Linked DNA regions of Homo sapiens: region 2 is linked to region 1. The links are contacts of gene promoters, found by promoter capture Hi-C in blood cells and fetal thymus (Javierre and others, 2016). All regions are on one chromosome and are shown on one strand. Each heading gives the region's core, a stretch centred on a gene start or on the middle of the fragment in contact. The rest is flanking DNA. Distances are from core to core; before and after follow the strand shown. Region 1 overlaps PRCD (photoreceptor disc component). Region 2 holds the start of SPHK1 (sphingosine kinase 1).

Region 1 (6,005 bases), core at 226-2,725:
TGTGTATGTCTCTCTGTGTGTATGTATGTTTATGTGTATCTGTGTGTGTGACTGTGTGTATGTGTATGCTATGTGTGTCTATAAGTGTATATGTCTGTATGTGTGTAAATGTGTATGTGTCGGTGTATATGTGTGTGTGTATGTGTGAATGTGTATGTCTGTGTATGCATGTGTATCTGTGATTATGTGTGTGTGTTTCTGTGTGTCTGTTTTATTTGTGTGTGTACATGTATGTCTGTGTGTATGTGTGTGAATGTTCGTATATGTGTATGTCTGTGTATGCATGTGTATGTGTGAATGTGTGTGTGAATGTGTATGTATGTGTATGTTTATGTGTATGTGTGTGTATATGTGTGTGAATATGTTTGTATATGTGTATGTGTGTGTGAATGTGTTATGTGTGTCTGTGTGTATGTGTATGTGTGTGAATATGTATATGTGTATGTCTGTGTGTGTGTGAATGTGTGTTGTGTGTGTGTGTGTGAATGTGTGTCTCTGTGAATGTGTGTATGTCTGTGTGTGTATTATATGTTTGTATAGGTATATGACTGTGTTTGTGTATGTGTGTGTGTGAATGTATGTGTCTCTGTGTGTGTGTGTCTGTGTGTGTGAATGTGGGTGTCTCTGTGTGTGAATATGTGTGTGTGTGTGTGTGTGAATGTGTGTGTGTTCACATAGGGACAGGATTGGCCTCTCCTCCCCAGGTGCACAGGCTGAGTCTGTTAGTAAATTTTTAAAAATTTTCTCAGTCCCCCACTACAGTCATCATCCCCACTAGGGGGCACATGTGTCACACAGAGAGGGTCTGTGCTCCTTAGGCACAAGGACTGGCTTCCCACTGTCAGCGGATCCCCCTGAAAGCCACCTCCTTGGTCTCCATGGCCTGCACCCTCCCCCTGCAAAAACAAATCAAAACAACCTTCCTCACCAGGCTCCGCATCTCCAGCTGGGCTGCTGGCTGCCATCCTGTCCTCTCCCCAGGGCCCTGCCCCTGGCTGAAGGAGGCAACAGAGTGGCAGTTGCAGTGACTGTGGGTGATGACCTCGCTGTCTGTCATCCCTGCCAGAGGCCACCACATCCTTCCTGAGGAAGACTGAGGGGTCCTAAAGGGGCAGCTCTCCTCTCCCCCTCACCTGGCAGGCAAGAACCAGCCTCTCAGGGCCTAGAGTCTGGTCTGCCCTTGAATGTGAGTTCCTGAAGACAGATTGGTGGCAATGACCCTGGCCAACACCAGCCCACTTGCAAAGGCAGGCTGGGCGGGACCACAGCTCCATTCCTTGTGCCTTGTAGACAGGTCACAATCAAAATTTCCTCACGGCCCCCAACTCGAGACTTGGGCCCCCTCTATCCCAAGCTTTGGTGTCAGATTTCCCAGGCTCAGGTCCTGGCTTCACTGCCAGCTATGAGTGACCTTGAGCAAGTTCTGTGAACCTCACTTTCCTTATTGGATAAATGATAACAGTTCCTGCCGCATAAATGAAACAGTGCGTAAAATACAGCAGCTGGCACAGTGCCTAGCACATAGTAAGCGCCCAATGCATGTTAGTGGTTATTAATCATACGATTAGTATCATCATTATGTTAACATAAGCTTCCGTGCGAACCAAACTGTTCTTCTGAGGTTCACAAAGAAGCATTATCTTCCTCTAGCTCTAGGTCTTGGGCTTCTTCCTAACAGTGAGGCCCCCCACAGAGAGGCTACGGGAGCCTGAGGAACCAGCAGGGTTTGCTCTCTCGCCATTGTGCCTGTCTCATAGTGGGCACTGTGCCCTACCCATCTAGTCTTGGCCCACCACCTGTACTGTTTGCCCTTGCCCAGGACTGCGCGCACACACACACACACACACACAAACCACACACACACACAACCGCACACTTGGAATGGGTGGGTACTCCCCAAGGTGACATCTACACCCCAGGGTGACAGTGGACAGCCACAGCTGCAGTGGCTACTTCCCTGGCTCCCACCACACCCCCACCGCCTCATTAGTTCCCTGGTCATGCTCCAGTCTCCAGGAGAGACTGGCAGCCGCTCTGAGCCTCAGTTGCAGGAGCAGCACCTCCCTGCTCCTGGTTGCTGCCCTCAGCCGCCCTGCAGCTCCAAGCAGCCTTTCCCCGTCACTCAGGCTCCCCCAGCAGAGATATTAGCATTCACACGGAGGAAGGTACCACAGCAGGGCAGCGCCTCCCGTCTTGTCAAGGAGCTGAGGTTCATTCCGGAAGCAGAGCCAGCTGGGAGTGGCGCTGTCCAGGTCGAGGTCACCACTGGAGGTTGGGACATGGTTCTGGGCACAGAGAGGCAGTGGTGGTCTTCTCCAGTACAGGCTTACAGGGGGCTTCCCCACCCCAGCAATGCCACCCTCTGCCATCCTCTGATCTGTTGCAGAACTACCGGTCGCCCAGCTCTGTGTATGTGGAGAGACGGCAGGAAGGACCAGAGAGTGAGGATGTGAGGAACTCTAGCCGTCCTGAATCTACCACTGTTCAGTAATTTACAGTTCAAACCGGATTGTGCCAGCTCACATATATGGGACACTTACCCAACATGCTAAGCATCTTCCACACGTTATCTAATCAACCCTTACAACTCTAAGAGACAGATACCAGTAGGATCTCCATCCTACAGCTAAAGAAACTGAGGCACAGAGGTGTTCAGAAACTTACCCAGGCCACAGAGGTAGGATGTGCTGGTGGAACAAGGTTCAAACCCAGGAGCTCTGACTCTGGACACCTTGCTCTTGGACTCTTGTTATTTCACAGTAGCCAGCACCCTAGACCAGAAGGGACCCCACCCTTTGGCTCAGCTCTCCCTCTCTAGCTGCCCTTTATCTGCCCTCTCCCAAGCCCCTGAGCACTCCTGCTCCCATTCCCAAGCAGCGGCTCTTTGCAAGGAAAGGGATGAAAAAGGACTCAGCCTCAGTGGGGACAGTGTCATAGTCAGGATTTAATTCCCCCATTTAAAGGTCCACCCTTGCCCTGAGCTTCACACTAAGCCCTGTGATGGGAGCCAGTGGGCCAAGGAAGGGGCACCCGGGTCCCAGGAGCCTTCTGTGGGGAGCTCTAGGCTGAGAGAGGTAACTTTCTGCAGCAGGAGCTGCAAATGTGCAGACTGCGCAGAGAGCCCAGGGGTGGGAGAGGCCCCGGGAATAAGAGGCGAGCGTGGGCTGGGTGTGCGGGGAAGGTGTAAACACAATCTGCTCCCACCAAAGCCAGCCTGCTCCCTGGGGGAGACAGCCCCCCCACCCGGCCCACATGGCACCCCAGCTGCCCAGGCAACCTCCAAGCCCAGGCAGCCACAGCCCCGCTGGCCGCCAGCAGCCCCTTCCTCTCTTTTTCCCGCCCTTCCTCTGGATGGATCCCTGGAGCAGCCACCACCTCCTGCGCAGGTTCTCGGAACAGTGGCGTGGAGGGGCGCTGCCCTGGGGAAGTGCGTCTGGGCCGTGAGCCAGCTCCATGACCTTGGCCTGACAATTCCTCAGACCAGTGGAAGGAGATGAGCAACTCGGAAATGGCAGCAAGGATGAGGTGACAGGAACATGGCAAATAGAGAATAAATGCAGATAGGATCGGGGAACACAGACTGGGTCCCGGGAACAGTGCCCTCTGGCCCTCAGCCTGACAGGCCTGTCACCAGGAAGGCCGATGCCTCCAAAGAGAGAGACAGGCTGACAGGAGCTGAGACAGGCGATCACGGGCTCACGGCCTGGGTCAGGCTGGCGCTCTGGCTTTGCCTCTGCAGGCTCCTTCCCTAGTGTGACTTTCCCCCTGCCTCCTGCCTGCCCTACTTTGAGAGGCTCCCACAGAACTGCCTTCGCACACACCCCAGCCAGGCTCCCCGAGGTACCAGCAGGCCCTCCCCAGCGGGGTGCACCTCCTCCCCCACCCTGAGCGCCTCCCCAGCGGTTCCCTCTGCTCTGCGGCATCCCTCACCCTTTCCCTTCCTTCCCTTCAGAGGCAGAGTGGCGGCTGAAGTGCTGCTGTCTAGAGAACTCCATCTTCTACTGCCTGGAAGTCAAGGGCACGGGCCAGCCAGGCAGAGACATCGCCGCTGGGCTGGGAGGGGGGCTGGCTGGGGAGGAGAGACGCGTGTGCACAGAGGCACGGGGGGTTTTTGAAGACTAATAGCTGTGAGACATCAGGAGCAGCTGCCTGCAGGGTCTGCTCCTGGATCTGGGAGCAGAAGCGGAAATCTGCTTTTATCTCTGCTCAGGATCATGCAGGATTGAAAAGAGAGAAATGGCAGAGCAGCTGGGGGCAAAGGAGGCAGCCGCCGGGACTGAGCATCAGCAAATTGATAAAAACAAGTGTCAGGCTTTTTCCTTCCCACACGCTACTGCCCGTTTGGAACACACGCGCTTGCACACATACAGAAAACACATTCGGAGGACAAGCTGTCCGTTGCTCCCATCCAGCTGCAGGCAGACATGTCACAGATCCAACTGGCATTTCTTATTGATAATTTCAGCAGAGCAGCCAGTGACAGGATGAGCTCTGGGAACTGGGGAAAGGCAAATGACACAAAAGCGAGTGCCACTGTGGCAAACCGACACCAGCACCTCGGACCACAAGTGGCGGCTTAACAGAATAGCTCCTGGGCTGACAGGCAGTTGGCCAGGCCAGCAAACCACCCCCAACCCCTGCAAACTGTTAGGTTCCAGGGGGAGGCCGCCTGCCATGGTGGGTAGGAGCGTGGGCTCTGCAGCTCCAGTGTGAGCCTGGGAGCCTCCACTTCCTAGCTAGGTGATGTTGGGCAAATTATTTAACCTGTCTCTGTGTTTCCCCATTTAGAAATTGTGGATAATAACATTACCAGGCTCTGTGGGTGACTGAAGATTAAATTACAGAATGAATGGAAGCCCTTGCTTAGTAAATGTGAGCTATCAGCCGTCCCTTGCTTCTGGGGTCTCCTCACTCCTTACTTATTCCTGCCTCTTGCCTGGGCTGCTGGCTGCCCCAGAATTAGCCTGGTGGACCCAGCAAGTCCCTCATCCTAGGCTTTCTCAGGCTCAGCAGTCCCTCAGAGGAGCCTCAGGAACTCAGAGGGAAGGAAGCCCGTCCGAGAGCAGCGAGCACGTCTGCTCTTTCTGCCAGGCCCAGCCAGGTCCTGCTCAGGAGCCCACACCCAGGGCCTGGGGGAAGGGGAGACTGGCAGGTCCCGGGCTGAGAGGGAGGCGTCTACCTTCTCTAGTGCTGCTTCCCCCCATTCTCCCTCTTGCCGCTGCTGCAGCTCCCACAGCATCCTCCTGGGCTAGGGGACGAACCAGGACCTGAGCTGAAACAGAAAACCAGAGCAGATCAGCACTTCTCCCACACCTGGGGATGGGACTCGCATTTCAGAGTGGATGTTTCCGAGCACCGCCTCTCCCTTGGGCGTCCTCCGACACTGCCCTCATGCCCCAGCACGACCACCTCGCCATCCCCAAGCCTAGAAAATGTGGTCAAACTACACCTGGTTCTCTTCAAACTCATCCTTGCCCCATGGCCCGGACCACAACAGGCTCAAGGTAGCAGCCAAAGGCATGAGTCCATCCGCCTACTTTGAACCTCCATCAGTGGCAAGAGCTGAACACTGCCTGCTATCCTCCCACATGGCCGGGACTTGCCTGTTGCTTCCTGCCTGTCCCAAGCCTTGCCCTCTGCCCTCCCCGGCTCCCAGCCCTGCCCTACCTGCCTGAGCCAGCTGATCCCAGTCTCTGGGCCTGAGCCCCACCTGCAGAGGTGAGGGCTTACTTCAGAGGTTCTTTCTCCCTAAACAGAGGAAAGCACTGGGGTCAGGATTGAAGGGCACGACCTTCCCATGTTTCTGACTCTCCTCTTCCTCCTCCTCCCATCCCTATCAATTCACCCCAATATTGAGGGGCAGGACCACCTAAGGAATCAGTTGGCATTTAGGACAGTGTGACTGGAGAGTAGAAATGTCACCCCCACTGCCAGCCTTCCACGGCAGCCACCATCGGCAGGTGGTTCCTCGATGTCAGACCAATTTTTCCAGTTAACTGGGTCCC
Region 2 (6,251 bases), core at 1-2,500, 160 kb after region 1:
CGGCCTTTGCTGGGAGACCTGGGGTGGGGACGCGGCGCCCCTGCCACCCCCTTCCTTGGCTCAGATTCGGCCGGCTTCTGGCCTCGTGAGGGATAATGTTTCTCCCGATCGTCCACAGCCCCTTTCGTCCAGCTGGGCGTTCCATCATTCCTGGCGAGGAACAGGAATCCCCCTACAGCCCTTCCCAGCAGGAACCCCACAAACCTGGATCCATAACCTCGACCCGCGGCTCCCGCTGCCAGGGGGTCCCTGGCGCTGTGGGGGCGCTGCCCGTGGCGGCGGCTCCTGCCTTCAGCTCCTTATCGGTGCTGCCCAGGCGGGCGTCGCAGGGCCGGCTGTGGGGCTCGCCTTCCCCGCCCGGAGCCGTGGCTGCAGGAGCACCGGCGTCATTCCCTGCGGCGGCTGGACCTGAGGGAGAGAAGACAGCGCTGGCGGAGTCCGGGGCCGCAGCTGCCAGAGGTGGGGAGCGCCCGACTAAATCCCGGGACCACGCGCGGGGAGCCAGGTTCCCGGGAAGTCCAGAGAGCTGAGGTCCGGTGCCTCCGAGGGCGCCCCCGCCGTGTGACTAAGCCTACAATCCCTGAGAAGGGCGCCTGCTCCGGGGCTTTCTCCCTGGGGCTTGGGGTTCGGTTCCGGCCCGACGGATGAGTCAGAGCCCCGTGGCTCCCTCCGACGGACTAGCTCCTCACCCCTCGGGGCTGCCAGGGGGAGGGGAGTCCAGCTGCGTAAAAATCCCAGAACTTGAGCGGACATTGCTGGGCACGAAGTTCTGGGAGAGGATCCCTGCCCCAGCCATCCAGGTTGCCGTGTCCCCTGCCCGGAGCTCCAGAGCGGTGGGAGCCGCGGCGCGCGCTTCTCAGGGCCCCGCTCCGTTGCGACGCGCGCGGCGCTCGTGGGAGCCGCTCCCGGGTCGCGCCAAAGCCAAGCCCGAACCGGGCCACCAGCTGCCGCCTGCTCTCGCCCAAGCGACAAGTGGCCCAGTTCCCGGGGCCCCGCGAGGGCGGGCCGCACAGGAGCCACGAGCGGCGCGAAGGCAGGGTGGGCGGCCCTACCCAGTCGGTCCGGTTTGCTGGGGAGGCGCCACCGCCGTTCCCTACAGTGGCCTGGGGCGGAACGCAGCTCGTCCCAAGCTCAGCCCACGTCTGAGGGACTGGAGCGCCCCGCTGGAGCGGACTCCCCGGCCTCGCTCCCTCCGGCCTCAAACTTTTCGCTCAACTTCGCAGCCGGCGCCGCGGAGCGGGGAGGGCACTGAGCCTCGGCGCCGGCCTGGCTCCGCCCCGCGCTCCCGGGGGTGGAACCTGAGCCCGGCGCGGCCTCGGCCTCTGCCCGCCTCCGGCCTCAGCGCGCCGCCTCCGGCACGGCCCGCGCCCACGGCCGGGCCACGAGCTGGTTCCCGCCCGGGTCCTAGGAAGCGGCAAGCGCGCCCCCGCCGCTCGTCCTAGGCGTCTGGCTAGAAGGCGGCGCCGCGACCTGGCCGGGTGAGCTGAGGCGGCAGGCCGCGAGGCGCGGAGTCCCGGGCCCGGCCGCGAGCGCAGTGTCTGGGGCGCGCGAAAGCGACCGCGCAGCGCAGACGGAGGCGCGGGCTCCGCGCGAACTCGTGTCGGAGCGAGCGCCGGGCGCGCGCGGCTCCGCTCTCCCGGGGGACCCTTGGTTTCACCTCGACGCCACGACCTCGCCCCCGCGGGTGCTGTCGGCGCCGGGATGCAGCGCCCCTTTTGCGCGCTCTGCCCTAGCCCACCCGAAATTCGAGGCCCGCACGCCACCCGGGGCGCCTCTCCAGGCCGGGGCGTCTCGCCCGCCGCCCACCAGCTTCCCTCTTTCTTCCTCCCCCGCGCTCCCACGGAGGTTATTTTTAACTTCCCGACGCTGCAGCTGGGCTACCGAGCCTGAGGCCGCCTAGCGCGCTGTCCCGGGTAGAGCAGGCGACAGGCCGGGGGCTCCGAGCCGGAGAGGAGGCTTGACAGTGTAGATGGGCCTGGGGGCCCCCGTCGGGATTGGAAAGCCAAGCATGTGGTACGTGCCCCCCGCCCCCTCTGGCTCAGCGTGAAGAAGGGGCGCCGGAAACGCGCTCAGAAGTTGTCACTTCTTTGGAGGCCAGTAGGGACGCGTTTGTCAGTGTGTTTGTGATACACTTATCGCGGCAAGCCACAGAACGTGTCCGCGAGCACCTCGAGTTAGATCCCTGGGGGGTTACGGCGGAGACGGAGGAAGAAGTTGCCAAGGCCCATTGGTGACCTGCCCAGGTAGGGCCAGAGTTAGGAGAAACCAAGCCCCTGCGGGAGGCTGCGGGGCTCGCGCGCCCCCGCCGGCCCCACCCGCCCCCACACACCTCTCTCATCGCTTCTTAAAGTCGAGAAGAGGCAGGTCCAGGAGGAGCACGCAGCCAATTAGCCGGGCGGCGCCCTGAACTCCGGCACGCCTCCGCGGTGTCTTCTCTTCCGGAGGACCCAGGCAGCTCGGCCCCGTTTCCCAACACTTGGGGGGTCAGACGGGCGGGACCCGAGAGTCCCCGGGCGGGTCGGGGGGCACTGGCTGGGACGCGGGGTCCCTGGGGCCGCAGCTCCGCGCGCGTATCGGCGGGTGCGCCTTCGCCTTGCGCGGCCCCCGGGCAGTCCCCGCTGGGTCCAGAGCGTCCCGAGCGCGTTCCGGGAAGGTGACTCAGCGACGCGCTCAGGGGTCGAAAAACTCCGAGAAACAGGAACGAGGGGAGGGAGCAGGGGCGTCATCCCCGACTCCTGGCGTCGCGGCGCGTGTCGGAATGATGGGTCCTGCACCTCCGAGCCCCCCACCCCCTTGCTCCAGGAATCCGGCGCGGGCGGGGGAGAGAGCCCTGCAGCCGCAGTGCCGCGGTCATGCGCTGCGGGGACGCGAGCGGCGGCTGTGGGAGGAGGGGGCTCCGCGCGGGAGCCCAGGACCAGATCCGTCCGCCCCTCCCCTCTCCTCTGCCTTCTTCCCCTCCTCTTCCTCCAGCGAGGGACTTTGGTGCCTAGAAAACGCGAATCGGAGGCTGTGCTCCCCGAGATCTCAGCCTTCGAGGGTACTGGCTGCGGAGATTAGCTGGGGCAGCCTTCCCCGTCTGCTCCCCGCCCCGGAGAGCATTTCCACCAAATCTGAAAAGCTCTGTCATTAGCCATAGAGTCTGAAGAGGGGAAACTGAGGCACAGGGAAGCACTGTGAGTTCGTGGTGATAAAGCCCACCTGGTTCAGGGTCCCCCCTTTTTTTTTCCTCCTGGGGCCCCAGAAAGGTCGGATCCTGCGCCTCCAGGCCCACTACCACCAGCCTTGAGTCCGCGGAGCGGGCGGGGGCGGGGTTGACTGCAAACTGAGTTGGCAAGGGGAGGCGGGGCACGGGCTCTTTATCCAACGCCTCCGGGCCCCAGCTCCCCTCCTGGCTCTGGAAGGCCCCGCGGGAGGGAGGCGAAGGGCAAAGCCCTCTGGCCCCGGTTCCAGGCCGCACAATGGGTCCTCTGTCCTCCCTGGCGCCTAACCCCCTGCCCCCCTCACCTCCAAGGCCTTTGCCCCCCTCATTCTTGTCATTCACTTCCCCCAACCCAGGCTGCCTTTCTCCAGACCCCTTTCCCCTTCTCCCTTTCTAAAGAATTTGATCCTATCTCCAGAAACTCCCCCAGCTGCATCCCTGCTCAGAGAGGCAGGATTGGCCAAGAGCAAGATGGTTCCCCTTCCCACGGTTGCGGGTCGGGGGGCGGGCACTTGGATCTCTCAAGCTGCCAGCTTGGCCCGTTTCCCACTGTACTTTACTTCCTTTTTTAAAAAAGAAAAAAGGACAAGGCGGGAAGGAGTTGGGGGGGCCTGAAACCCTGAGAGGTGAAGAGGCTTGCACAAGCCTCCAACCAGTTCCCCACAAAGCAGAGAAGCAAACCTGTGAACCCAGACCCCACGCTGAGAAGCCAAGTCCAGCCAGAGCTCCCCTCTGGGCCTCTCTGTATCCCAGGCTATTTCTCCCTGAAGGGCAGGTATCTGGGGATCTGGTGCCTGGTGGATTGCTTGCCGCAGAGCTGTGGCGTCTCCCTGAGGAGGAGGAAGCAGCAGGCCGGGCGCAGTGGCTCACTCCTGTAATCCTAGCACTTTGGGAGGCCGACGTGGGTGGATCACCTGAGATCGGGGGTTGGAGACCAGCCTGACCAACGTGGAGAAACCCGTCTCAAACCCCGTCTCTACACCGGGTGTGGTGGCGCATACCTGTAGTCCCAGCTACTTGGGAGGCTGAGGCAGGAGAATTGCTTGCACCCAGGAGGCAGAGGTTGTGGTGAGCTGAGATCGTCCCATTGCACTCCAGCCTGGGTGACAGGGCGAAACTCCATCTCAAAAAAAAAAAGAAAGAGGAAGCAGCTCCAAGCCCTCCCCAGGCTTCATCCTGAGTCTGGAAACAGCTGAGCAGCCGCTGTGCTCAGCAAGGCCCACCGTGGGCCTGGGAACAGGCCTGGGCCGGCAGAGAGGTCTGATTTGATCACCAACCCAGAGCTTGGCTTGCAGGTAATCTGCTTCACAGGTGGGAGACTTTTTCTAACTTCCCCAGCCTCCCCTTCCTTGTGGGCAGCCTCCCCAGGGAGACACACCTGAGAACCCCCTTTTTTCTTTTCCCGAGAAAGAAAGCAGGCATTCACCTGGCCTGGTCCCAGCTCTCCAGAAACTTGGAGTCAAGGCTGCCAGATGGCAAATTACTTGCTTTTATGAGGAGAGGATTCCTGCCATCTCACCCTTCCCTGAAGCTACCTTCCCTAGGAGATTTCAGCTCCCTAATTGCATAGCCTCAAGGTCTTCCTTGACCTCAACTTCTTTCCCTTTTTTTTTTTTTGAGACAGAGTCTCGCTCTGTTGCCCAGGCTGAGGCTGGAGTGCAGTGGCGCGATCTTGGCTCACTGCAACCTCTGCCTCCCGGTTTCAAGCAATACTCTTGCCTCAGCCTCCCGAATAGCTGTGATTACAAGTGTGAGCCACTGCACCTAGCTAATTTTTGTATTTTTAGTAGAGTTTGTGTTTCACATGTTGGCCAAGCTGGTCTCAAACTCCTGACCTCAAGTGATCCGCCTGCCTCGGCCTCCCAAAGTGCTGGGGTTATAGGCATGAGCCACCACTCCGGTTTTTCCCTTTTTATGGTACTTTACTGCCTAGGGGGTTGCAAGGACCGGGGAAGGGGGAGGTTCTATCTCACAAGCTCTTTGAGCTTAGGGGCCGGGCACGGTGGCTCACATCTGTAATCCCAGCACTTTGGGAGGCCAAGGCGGGTGATCATGAGGTCAGGAGATTTGAGACCATCCTGGCCAACATGGTGAAACCCCCGTCTCTACTGAAAATACAAAAATTAGCTGGGTGTTGTGGTGCATGCCTGTAATCCTAGCTACTTGGGAGGCTGAGGCAGGAGAATCGCTTGGACCCGGGAGGCGAAGGTTGCAGTGAGCTGAGATGGTGCCACTGCACTCCTGCCTGGGGACAGAGCAAGACTATGTCTCAAAAAAAAAAAAAAAAGCTTAGGGCTGGTTGGGCGCAGTGGCTCACGCCCGTAATCCCAGCACTTTGGGAGGCTGAGGCGGGTGGATCACGAGGTCAGGAATTTGAGACCAGCCTGGCCAAGATGATGAAACCCCATCTCTACTAAAAATACAAAAATTCGTCGGACGCGGTGGCAGGTGCCTGTAGTCCCAGCTGCTCAGGAGGCTGAGACAGGAGAACTGCTTGAACCCAAGAGCGAGCCGAGATTGCACCACTGTACTCCAGCCTGGGCAACAGAGCAAGACTCCGTCTCAAAAAAAGAAAAAGAAAAAAAAAAGCTTAGCGCTGCCCCCACATGGCTTTCCATTCTCAGTTTCCTAGATGTCATTTCCAGGTCGACCATACCAGGCATTGGGGTGGAGGGGATGCCACGCGCCACACGTGGCCACATGTGGAGATCCAGAGGACCAGACTGGTCATGCGAGATTCTTGGCTGCTTGCAGGGAGTGTGTGCTTTGCCCGAGTTTCTGATTCTCCCCAGTGGTTTGACTATGATGAGTGTATGGTGGGGTGACCCTAGCTCTATCCCTTGGGTGGTCTCCTTGTCCTTGTCGTCCTTGCTGAGGCTGGGGACCCAGGTCTCTTCTGGGCCTCTGGGCTCTGCCTGTCACATGCCCTCACCTCCAGGCTGCTGACTGTGGCTGCAATTCAGGGTGATTCTCTTCAGAGCCCTCTCAAGGTGGCGAGCTGCAGCCCTACCCACTCCATTTGTCTCAGCTGCCTGCCCAGCATCTATAGGCA

What was found. The method cuts DNA at HindIII sites, captures the fragments that hold promoters and counts their contacts. A CHiCAGO score of 5 or more calls a contact.
Region 2: a contact is called between the fragment with the promoter of SPHK1 here and a fragment that was not itself captured in region 1, in 1 of 17 cell types (naive B cells). The highest score is 5.1, in naive B cells.

What each region holds. Positions count from the first base shown.
Region 1 is chr17:76,542,296-76,548,300 of GRCh38, reverse strand. It overlaps PRCD (photoreceptor disc component), which reads right to left. Exons shown (of 5, transcript NM_001077620.3): 3 at 5,668-5,748; 4 at 5,180-5,272; 5 at 2,925-4,498. The coding sequence ends at 5,727. It also overlaps a transcript of CYGB not described here. Among named protein-coding and RNA genes, the nearest start is that of PRCD, 5.3 kb to the right of the region's middle. RefSeq lists an enhancer at 488-991. The HindIII fragment of the contact is 237 bases long and covers 1,357-1,593 here.
Region 2 is chr17:76,379,608-76,385,858 of GRCh38, reverse strand. It overlaps SPHK1 (sphingosine kinase 1), which reads right to left and starts at 1,250. Exons shown (of 6, transcript NM_001142601.2): 1 at 1,053-1,250; 2 at 205-408. The coding sequence starts at 214. RefSeq lists silencers at 883-1,582, 2,163-2,302, 2,323-2,612. The HindIII fragment of the contact is 9,575 bases long and covers 1-5,489 here.